Linked DNA regions of Homo sapiens: region 1 is linked to region 2. Evidence: promoter capture Hi-C in 16 types of primary human blood cells and fetal thymus (Javierre and others, 2016). All regions are on one chromosome and are shown on one strand. The core of a region is centred on a gene start or on the middle of the fragment in contact, and the rest is flanking DNA. Distances in the headings are between cores, read along the strand shown.

Region 1 (5,737 bases), core at 1-2,500, 200 kb after region 2:
TGTTCTTCACTGCTTCAGTCCCCATGACCACTCTATCCCCCGTGGCCCCAGCTGCCACTCACCGATGATGATACCGCAGGTGAGCAGGGCATAGAAGGAGGTGGTCTGCTTGAGCAGCAGGTAGGAGAGCAGCACGTTGAAGACGGTGGTGAGTGAGCGGCCCACATTGTAGAAGGCCACACCGACGTACTTGAGGCAGAGGTTATTGAAGGTGATCATGCCGATGAAGACCACCGACAGGGGCAGGACGCTGCGGGCCACCCTGAGGTCCAGGCGCAAGCTGGGGAAGTCCACGGCACCAGGGCAGCAGGCGGCCAGAGCGCTGAGGCCTTTGCACAGCAGCGTGGTCACCAGGCACTGGTAGAAGGTGACGAAGATGGGGGTGTCCAGCCGCAGGGAGGGGCTGTCCAGCAGGTACTTATTAAGGAACACCATGGAGATGGAGGTGACCCAGTAGAGGGAGACCACCAGCGCGATCTGCAATGCCCGCAGCAGAAAGGGCTTCTCCCCGTTGGCCTCTGCCTCTGCAGAGGGGTCTGAGGCCCCGGTCAGCGCCATGTGCAGGATCCTGGACCGCTTCAGAGGGGCCCTATTCATGGTAGCAGAGGAGCTGGGTCACCCCGCGGCCAGAACTCTGATTCCCTGGAGTCCAGGGCAGTGAGCTCACTTGTGCTCTCCGCAAGGAAGCCGCAGCCCTCCATTGTCACATGTGGGCTGGCCTAAAGGCCTCCCCATTGTCCTCATGGATTGAGAAGTTCTGCTTTGGGGTGAGCCCAGTTGTGCTGCTCCACAACCTACTCCCACCCCGAGGGGGCTCTGAGACAAGACACAGGGCAAGGGAGAGGAATAGGATAAGGCGGTGAGGCCAGGACAGAGAAGACCTGTGAGGGGAGAAGAGGCTGGGGCCTAACAGGGAGGGGTCGCAGAGAGAAGGGAGGGGAGAGGAATGGCAGGGCGGGGCAGGAGTAGGTACGCGGGGCGAAGGTGCAGGAAAAGGACGCGTGGCAGAGTGGGAAGAGGTGCCGAGAGGGCGTCATGGGCGGCTGTGGGAGGGAGGGGCGGGCAGGGGGAGGGAGGCGTACAGGGAGCTGCCGGAGGCCGGGCGCGGCTGGAGGGAGGGCTGCGGAAGGGTCAGAGGGGCTCGGGGCTTGGGGCTGAAGGACGCGGGAGGGGGCTGGGCCGGCGCCCACGTCTCGCTGCCTTCCCGGGCTCTGTCGCCGGCTCAGCCCAGGAGCCTCCGGACATCCGAGGCCGACTCCCCGGGAGGCGGGCCCTGGACTCACTTCCTGACACGCCCCCACGTGGCCTTAAAGGGCCCGCACGCCCCGCCTTGCCCTTAAAGCGACAGCCCCAGAGAGGCGGAGTTCGCCAGTCCCCAGCCCCGCCCCTGCGCTCCGCTGCCCGCTGCTGGCGGGGGACCTCGGCAGCCACAGGTTTTTCTGGGTGCTTGAGCCTCGCCCTGCTTCCTGGAAGGGCTCCATCAACCTCGCCTGCCCACCCTCAGCTCCGTCCGCCCCGGAGCCTCCGTCCCCCGACTTGGCTAGGCTTGGCTCGCAGGTCCACTTCCCGGAACCCCGACCCAGGACCCGGGCGGCGCTACATCAGCCTGGACCCCTCCACCTCCGGAGACTCGCGTTGCAGCCCCGCGTCCCTCTGCCAATCCGAGCTCACTCTTCCATAACAATGTTGTGGTCCCCTCCTTTCCCCCCATTTTCACCGCCCCCAGGCCCTCTCCCAAGCCCGAGACCCCCGGCAGCGCTCCCCGAGGCCGGAGGCCACGCCGCCTCTCTCGGACTTCAGTTTGTCCTCCCTGTGCTCCTGTCGAGGTCCTCTGGGCGGCCCGGATCCGAGATTCCAAAGGCTCAAGACAGCATCTCTTACCCCTTCCAGAAAATACTGTTTCCCCGGCCGGTCCAGCCGCATCAGCTCCCGCGTCCCTGCCTGTGTCCCCGGGCCGCGAAGGCGACCTGGCGCTCACCTCCTCCGGTGCACTGGGCGCCCGCCCCGCGACCCCGTGCTGCATCTGCAGCGCCGCACCCTGGGCCGCGCCCGCGGGATCGACTTCCTGCTTTCCGCCCCGGGCCCGGGCACCTTGCCAGCCTCGCCGGCCTGTTCGCGGCATGGGCCCCGGGGGTGCCGGCGGAGAGGCGGTGATCCGGACGGTCGTGGGAGGAGGCCCTCTCCTCTTTCCAAGGCTACTCCTGTCCCTGGTACCCCCGCCCGCCCGGGACCCGGCTTCAGTTACCGCAGCTGGCACGTCCCGGGACTTGGCTGTATCCCTGGCCCGCCGCGCTACCGGCTTGCACTTCCAGAAGTGCGTGCGGGGACCGCTCGGATTCTTCCAGCTGGCAGTGAGGGGGAGGGTTCCCCGCCCCTTCCAGGGCCGGGGCCTGGGAAGTCTAGCCTGTGGTCTGCCACTCACCAGGCAGCCGGGGAGACCAGGAGGATCGACTTCTCTTGGTTCGCGCTCTAGCACCTGCGTTGGGCAGGCCACTTTCTCCGACGGCCTGAGTTATCTTCATGGTAAAACTAAGGGGCTAGGCTTGACCTGTGGGTCCCAACCTTCTTGCCCAGAACTCTAGGTGGTATGGTCGAACATAGATGTTTGTAATATTTCAAGCACCATTTAATTAGTGCCATTTAATTAACGGGTAAGATGATGTCATGGCTGGGATTTGTTTTAAAATACTAAGAATACTTACCAAAAATATTTTTTATTTTTATTTATTTATTCTTTTTGGGACGGAGTCTCGCTCCGTCGCCCAGGCTGGAGTGCAGTGGTGCTATTTCAGCTCACTGCAACCTCCGTCTCCCGGGTTCAAGCGATTCTCCTGCCTCAGCCTCCCGAATAGCTGGAATTACAGGCGTCCACCACCACGCCCGGTTATTTTTTGTATTTTTAGTAGAGACCGGGTTTCGCCGTGTTGGCCAGGCTGTTCTCTAACTCCTGACCTCAGGTGATCCGCCGGCCTCGGCCTCCCAAAGTGCTGGGATTACAAGCGTGAGCCACCGTGCCTGACCTCAAAAAGATTTTTTTTAAAAGGTTGATAGATTAAATAAGATAAGCCATTGATAGTTGTAGCTAGGCGTAGATACACAAGGACCCATTATAAGAGTTTCCTTACTTTTGTGTACATTTGCAAATTTCCAGAATAAAAAGGTAAAACCTATATAGTACGCTTAAACTCTCAGATCCTAACTGCACAAACCTTCACTGGAGCTGAGCGCAGCCCTGGGTGGGCTGTAGGGAAATGGGAGGGCTGCAGGCTGCAGTGAAGTAAACAGCTGCCCCACAACGAGCCGGGCCCACACCCTACCCTCTTCCACTAGCCCCGGGTACTAGCACTCCCCTCTTCCTCCTCAAGGAATGAGACTCTGCTTCCTAGTTGTGGGCTGTTCTCCACCTGGAGGATACCATCTGGTTACCTTGTCACTTTTGGAACTAAAATATCCCTTTGGGGAAAGAAAGACTCAAGAGGGACTGAGCTGGTCTCCTCAACCCCACCTGGAGAGTCTACCTCTGGGATTTTCCTTTGAAGCTGTGGGTTTTGGTTCATTAAGAGCAATTCGTATCTGTTCCAGTCTCTCCTCTCTTATGCCCGAGAGTTCACCATGACAAACAATTTAGTGACAGACAGGGCAAACTTGTCCCTGAGAGGCCCTGGTGATCTGGAAGGGCCTTCTCCTTAGCACATTAGCAGGAACTTGTCTGATGACTGCTGCCACCTTGAACTGGAGGGAAGAGATATATCTTGTATATAGGCCAGATGCACTTCGCTGAGAGAGGCCCAGGGGCAGTCAGTGCTGCGTGTGTGGGGGACAGTGTGGGCTCTCTATGGAGGCCAAAGTATACCCCTGTCTCCAATCTCTCACATCATACCTGAAATTCTGTCATTAGTGTCACTCCCTTGGATTAAGGTTGTTAACAGGCCAGTACAGCAAGTTTCCTGGATTCTAATCATTTTATCCCTTATGAGGGAAAGGAGGGGTGGGGATGTTTCTTAGGGGGTCTAAGGCCCCTGGGAATTGTGTACCTTGCATAAATGGTTTGCTTTTGAATTTTCTTTAAGGAATGTTAATTGTTTAAACCATCCACAAAGGGTGAAATTTTAGGTCTTGCCAACAGTGATTATCCAGGGTGTGAATTTGGTGTGAGGTAGAGCATAAGATCATCAACGTGGCAGCTGAAGGGCTGTAATAGTTCCTTTATGGGTGTAGTCTCATTTTCTTGCCTTGGCTGGGAGCCACTAATAATGTCAGCAGGAAATTATTTCTGCCAGTCACAGTGAACAGAACTAACTTCCCAGGTTCAGGGGTCAGTGGATCTGTACCTGTGCGGCTTGAGAACTTCTGGGAACACACAGATGTTGACTGTCTCACTCTGAGTTCAACAAGGACTCATGAGCCTACCCTATGTGATAGACACTCCTAGTTGTCTACCAAAATTCACTCCCCCATTCATCCAAAATAATTGGATTGTAGCTAGTCTTATGGTTGCCCAGCCAAAGACTACATTTCCCAGCCTTCCTTCTAAGTAGATGAACCATGTGACTTAGTGGATGGTGAAGGGAAGTGTCTTGGTGAGTTCAGCCTGCTATAACAAAAATACCATAGATTGAGCAGCTTAAACAGTAAGCATTTATTTCTCACAGTCTGGAGGCTGGGAGGTCCAAGATCAAGGCCCAGGTGGATCTGGTGTCTGGCAAGGGGCTGCTTCCAGCTTGTAGAAGGCTGCTTTCTCCTTCTGTCTTCACCTGGCACATAGATGGGGGTGGAGTGGGGGGAGGATCTCATGTCTTTTCTTATAAGAGCACTAATCCCACCATGAGGGCTCCACTCTCATGACCTAATTACCTTCCAAAGACCCATCCCCAAATACCATCATATTGGGGCTTAGGGGTCCATTGGAGTATATAAATTTTGGAGGGATACCTCCAGTCTATAGCAACACGTGAGATATGCTACTTTCTAGGTCTTTAAAACTTTAGGAGTGTGTTCCTCCATGCTTTTTCTTCCTCTTCCCATAACCTGGAAACCAAATGCATCTATAAGCCAGTCTTGACCATGAGGACAAGGACAACGTCTTAGAGGCTGTGGAGGAATGTGATGGAAAAAGCCGAGGTCCCTGATTCTGTGGAGCAGAGATACCTGCCACTGTGGACTGTGGGAAATCAACTTATGTTCCTGCATACCTACACAGTTCTAAAGGGGTCTCTTTGCTACAGCAACAAGGCCTTTACCCACATGCCTACTGGAATGGCATTTCCTCCTCACACACATATTTTCTAGGCAAAATTGAGAAGGCATGAAATTGCTTAGTCTAATTTCTCTGTTCCTCTCTCTCTCTTTTGCTTTATCTCTCACAGTTTCCCATCCATCCATCCATCCATCCATCCATCCATCCATCCATCCATCCAACTGTTCATCCATCCAACCATCCATCCATCCGTCTGTCCATCCTGTCCTTATCCAGGACCTAGCACAATGCCTGCCACAGTAGGTGCCTAGTGCCTCGTTGTGGAATGAATGGAAGTCAGACCATGGGTAGGAATGCCTGGAAATCAGGGCCAATTTAAGAACCGTATTGACCCTAATCCCTGAAGTTTATAAGGCTTCTCATTCATCCCACATATAATTCAAAGTAAAAATTAACACTAAACTACAAAATACATGTAAGCAGAGCAAAAATCTTTTTTTTCCTCATTATTACTGGAATGCTCTTTTGAAAATAATAAGC
Region 2 (5,721 bases), core at 427-2,926:
GACTCCTTGTTATTTATATAGCGTGATTTGTGGAGGTTATTCAGAAAGTTTAGGAAGATAGAACACTGAGGGCAGATTTATTCAAACTAAAGAACTATAACAAGTTGCAATATTTCGTTAGGTGCTTATTAATTCTGGATTTGACTTAGCCTTTGCCCTAATTGTATATACAACCGAAAGATTAAGAATTTACTGATTTCTCATGGTTTTTTGCCCTATTAAAATAATTCTTGTTTGGGCTTCTGGAAGCATTGGAAAACAAATGAAAATTGGGAGTACACATTTTTTAAAGCATGAAGTTTATAACATTTAATTTTAAAATCATTTGGCTCTTATTTATAGGAACTATGTCAACAGTGATCTACTTGTCAGTTAATCTGGTTCTTTAATCGTAAATGTAAAATAACAGTGAACATCCTAATTCTTTAATTCTCTCTTGTCTGAATTTGAATTATTTTTTATCTACAAAGACTGTTTTATATTAGACCAGCCCATTTTCAAAGTTTAAAATTGTGCTTTTCCACAGGCATTTGTAGGCTCCAAATAAACTTTTAAAATTGTATGTTTTATTTTTCTTACTGTTCTTGAGAGTTCTGAAGTTGAAGTTTTTTAAAGAAATGAATACGATTCACATGCAAAAAAAGCATTTCCACATTTCATTAGAAGTGTTTCTTTTTTCTTTATGATCAGATTCATACAGCTAGAGTAAATTGTTTCAGAATTGGTGGGATGATCCGTCTTGAGCTATGGAAGCTTAATTGTGCTACAAATATTATTCTTTTATTCATTGCTCATAGGGAGTAAGTAGTTGGTGCTGATGGTTCCCCTAATGTTTATTTAACTATTCCAGTATAAGGCAGTTCACATTTCTTAGTAAAAGGATCGTTGATAGTTTCATTTACCTAGTATGTAATAAAAAGCTGAGAATAATCAGGGGCATTTGCTAATGGAGTCAAAATAACCTGTTTTATAAGTCAGAACAGGAAGGTCTGAACATTTGGTGCCCATTAATTAAGTTAATATTGCAAATGAGGTTTTTGCTTTTCTTATTATCTTGAAACCTTCAACCAGAAAAAGCAACTGCCTAAGATTATTTGGTATATACAAGGCGTTAATATATTGTGCAAATATTCTACAGTCTGAAAAATCTCAAAATCTGAAACACTTCTGGTCCCAAGCATAAATTTGTATAAATTTTATACAATATTTTACATCATTTTGTACATGAAACAAAGTTTTGACTGCATGTTGACTATGATCTATCACTTGAGGTCAGGTGTGAAGTTTTCCAGTTGTGGCATCACGTCAGTGCTCAAAAAGTTTTGGATTTTGGAGCATTTTGGATTTCAGATTTTTCAGATTAAAGATGCTCAACCTGAATTTTTGGACTGCGGTTGCTCTTGGTAACTGAGCCTGCAGAAAGTGAAATTACTGATGTGGGGGACTGCTGTATTAGTTGGGTGTATACATGCATGTGTTAAAATTTAACTGCATAATCTCATTTTCCATATTCAGAGACATTTGCAGTAAGAGACAAATATTATTGTAAAGGGAAAAAGTAAACTTTGTTGTGTAGTGCTTATCTGTTTCCCTGTGTTTTTTCTTGAGGGTAGCCATGATAAAGAAGGGGAATAAATTTCGAACACATGTAAGTATGTGTGTAGTGAATGGGAGAGAGGGAGAGATGGTATTTTCAGGAGGCATAAACTGTATTTTACAAAGACATCTTTTAGATGATGAGTCCTTTAGTCTTGAGGAGACAGTTCAATGGAAAGCATTCTAGGCCTGGCAGATACAGCCCTCATCCACAGTAAAAGTTAAGTGCTATGAAAAAGTAATAGTCTGTGCTATGCAAACCAATATGAAGAAAAGTGAGTTTTTGTTTGATAAGAGGTCAAATGAGCACAGTTCTTTAAAACTTTTATGTTGAAGAAAAGAATAGAGAATATTCTGTCATAGCTACTGATAAAATATTTCAGTTTATGAAATATTGTCACTTACATGTTTTAAGTAGCTTTTAATATAATCTTAGAACAAGGACTTCCTTCTCTCCTCTACCCCTTCCCTACTCCCCAGTGTCTCTTATTTCTTATCTATTAAAAGTGAAATCCATTTCCTTTGGTCAAAAGTACAAGTTTTTTACAGTGTCCAAGACATCTCAAATTGATTCACTTTGTTATATAGAAAACACCATCTGTGATGTCAGACCATTTCTTAGAAAATTGACTGTTAAGAGCTCTTTTGCATTGAGTTATTTGGTTTTTATGAAGATGAACATTGGATGAAATTTCTTACCAGTATGCATAATTCAATGATTTTAAGAATCTATGGAAAATAAATTTAAACATTTTTAAATGAAATGGGATAAGAAAAAGGGGAGACAGGATTTTATTCATTGGTATATCTTTTTAATTTTCTACTTTGTGACTCCGTTTAAAAAAACCAACTCTGTAATTTTGAAGCAGAGATTCTGAAATTACCACTTTTCTAAAAATATCACTTACAGCTGAAACTTAATATATTGAAGCATTTTTGTTCTGAGGATGATACATATTTTCATAAAGATGTATTTCCAAATGGAAACAGCACTGAAGCTTCTGAAATAGGGAACCTTTCCAAAATAGGCTGTGGTTGCCTGGGTGAAGAATATTAGGTTGCAACACTCAAAAAGGAAATCCTGGCATAGGAAGCAATTGATGAAGGGCAAATGTCTGCAGAGTGTAATGAAGCTTTTAAAAGCACTTGTGTGGGCCTGCATGCAAGGCCTTGCCAGTACTTTTCAAATTAAAATTCATGTGCTCTGTAGTGTGCTGAGCCATACTCATACTTCCATCTTTACTTCTCTTCTACATAATATATCATTCTTATTTTTAATCTTCTATAAGTACTAGTCATCATCCTAGTGAGAATTGTAGCGTTTTCTCACTCTGCCCTTCGTGAAAATGTCATCATCATTATGGGCAGCAGGGCAGCTTTATGGTGTTTTAAAAATCAAGTTCATCAGCATTTTTAAGCTATCAATTTCTTGTTTTAGTGTCATTAGTACTATGAATATTGAATATTTTATGACTCTTTAGTTTTATAAAATATTTTTTTCTTTTAGCAGTGGGGGAGAGGATAGGTATTATCCTCATTTTGTAACAGTATTAACACCGAAGAGAGTCTGAGTGATGACTAGACACATAGATGGTGTGAAAAGAAAACTTGGCATTTTTTTTTTTTTTTGAATGTTAGCCTTTAACCCAAGCTCTTTCCTCCATACACTATATGCACAAAGTTTTTAGGACTTTTTTTAGTGGCACTCTCATATACAGATTTTCTTTTCAAAGCAAGAAATAATCTGAGCTTTAAAAAGATTCTATTGAGGAAATTATTCTACTCCTGTTTTTATAGTCTCAGAATGTCTCAAGATAATTTTAAATGGGTTTGTGCTATTTGGGGGAGAAGAGAAAGTCACAGAAACTTACCTGATTTTGCAAATCCAAAACAGTTAGAAATCATAGTATTCAATCTTTAGAAAAATTTCTGTAGCAGATATTTATCCAATTAATTCATTTTATTTGAATTCATTTAATTTGAGCTGTGTTTTAAGTAAAAAGGTATCAATGATCTACTTAATGTTAAATACATTGGGTGTTTTTTTGTTTTGCTTTGTTCTAGAGACTTTTTTTTTCATTACAAATTTCGGCCTTGGGGAAGAAGGGTCTTTTGAATAAAGATAAAACTAGTTCTGTGGAGGGGTTTGAGGGGGTGCCTCTAAATTCCCTGAAATGTGTGCAAAATTGTTTTATATGTTTGCACACATAGGACATTTTACGGGGACAGAGTCCAAAGTTCTTCATTATATCCCTTAAAGGTGTATATGACATCCCCTTTATCTAATGGTAATATCTGTGACGTAAATAAGTTCCCTTATGAAGTTTGAATATACAGCACTTTCTGCCCTTAAATGAAAAAGGCCATGTGTGAATTCCTTTTTTTTTCCCCCAAATAGTGCTTTCAAAAGCCCAGAAGTATTTGCTGAGGGTGGTTCTCAAATAAATCATCATTTATAAATGGAAAGAGATATGGTAGGTTATTATTGGAAAGTTAATAAATTTTACAAATTGTAGTAAAGTTACAAATTAGTTTATTTCTGAAGCATTAGCCATTCCACAAATATTTTGAGGACTATGCATTCTAGTTATGAAGGCCAAATATAGTAACAAATGGTGAGGATGGAGCAAAAGAAAAAGTTGCCCAAAGGAGCTCAACCCACCATTAAAACCTAGCCCAGTGTGCCAGATTATAATGATGTAAATCACTAATGAATATCATGTTATTTGTAAGGGAGTGTTTAAAAACATTAAGTGAAGTAGTAATTTTTCAGTAGTCTAAATTTTAATGAAAGCATTTACTTATGTAAATTGGAGCTTTATTTTTATATATTAGTTTTACTGTTTTGTTTTCACTAAAAATAGTCACTCTTTTCTTTATATTTTCTCATGAAATCCTTCCGAACCACTTCTAGAAATGGCATCGTCTTGCCATAAGTATTTTGTTTTCTCCCCATCTAGTTTTTATGAAGTAGTGCTAACTCTGCCTTAATTTGATTTGGCATCCCTGCAATTGAACATTTGTAAGTATCTTGTATTATGGCCCATCTGGGTTGTCATAGAAACCAAAGACCTCCATCCTCTTCCCTCTAGTTAAAAATGGAATGCAAACAGGGCTTCAAAGTGACGTTTTTCTAGTACGAGTGACAGCCCTGTGAAGTGCAGAACAGAAAGGTTTCTTATTGGTTTTATTCTCCCATGGCCTATCATACCAGTTAACTCTGATGCACACAGCCTTTCTCTTGAAAATCTGGCAAGATACTAATGGAATTTTAAAAATGTAAGCATGGGGGAAAAGAATGTAGTTAATCCTTTTCCTGTTCTTTTCTTATACAAAAATTCAGTGTTAGCTAGCAGTGTTTTTGTTTTCCTCCCTATGTTATTAGGTGGTCTGTTGATGCTGTGGTGCATGTGACGGAGACACCAACTGGAGCTTCTATTGTTAGTCTTGTTATTTATTTCCTAGGTTATATCAATGTGGGCTTATCTCATTAGAATCTACAGGTGCATTGGCTAAGTACATGGCAATACTTTATCGGAATAGAAATTTGTTGATAACAGTGATATCTAGTGTGCTGTCAATGGACCTGGTGACAGAACATCTTAGAGCCCCATTTCCAGCCCCCCTGGTGGTCACAGAACCTTTGACTTAACCTTGATGGTTTTTCAGTTTCCACATTCCCTTCAGATTCTCTACCAGAACCATACATGGCTTTAAGTTTTTCTTCTTAGACTTCTGTGATGTTTCTGCTTCTGAAGCAGCTATGTTAGTAAGTTCCAGTGAATTATTTCAGTTGTGTTAGCAAAATGTCTGATTTTATGGTTAAGATATGTTGAGCTATTGCTGTAGCATTACTTAGAGTTTAGAGTGTCACATTCTTATTTTAACATAGGTTTTGAATATAGAAGATGACACAGTGACCTCTGAACGTGAAACAATGAAAAAGTGACATATAAATTTATTTATTTATTTATTTATTTATTTATTTTTTTGAGACGGAGGTTCACTTTTGTTGCCCAGGCTGGAGTGCAATGGTGCGATCTTGGCTCACTGCAACCTCCATCTCCTGGGTTCAAGCGATCCTCCTGCCTCAGCCTCCCAAGTAGCTGGGATTACAGGCACCCA

The links. Contacts are between HindIII fragments. The CHiCAGO score rates a contact against its expected background, and 5 or more counts as called.
Region 1: a contact is called between the fragment with the promoter of SLC35C1 here and a fragment that was not itself captured in region 2, in 1 of 17 cell types (total B cells). The highest score is 5.2, in total B cells.

Annotation. Positions count from the first base shown.
Region 1 is chr11:45,800,662-45,806,398 of GRCh38, reverse strand. SLC35C1 (solute carrier family 35 member C1) reads right to left here and starts at 1,250. Exons shown (of 2, transcript NM_018389.5): 1 at 63-1,250. The coding sequence starts at 597. RefSeq lists silencers at 996-1,225, 1,956-2,125 and an enhancer at 2,296-2,455. The HindIII fragment of the contact is 25,730 bases long and covers 1-5,737 here.
Region 2 is chr11:46,000,788-46,006,508 of GRCh38, reverse strand. All of the region lies in intron 6 of PHF21A (PHD finger protein 21A), which reads left to right. Among named protein-coding and RNA genes, the nearest start is that of LARGE2, 81 kb to the right of the region's middle. RefSeq lists an enhancer at 5,166-5,721. The HindIII fragment of the contact is 1,841 bases long and covers 756-2,596 here.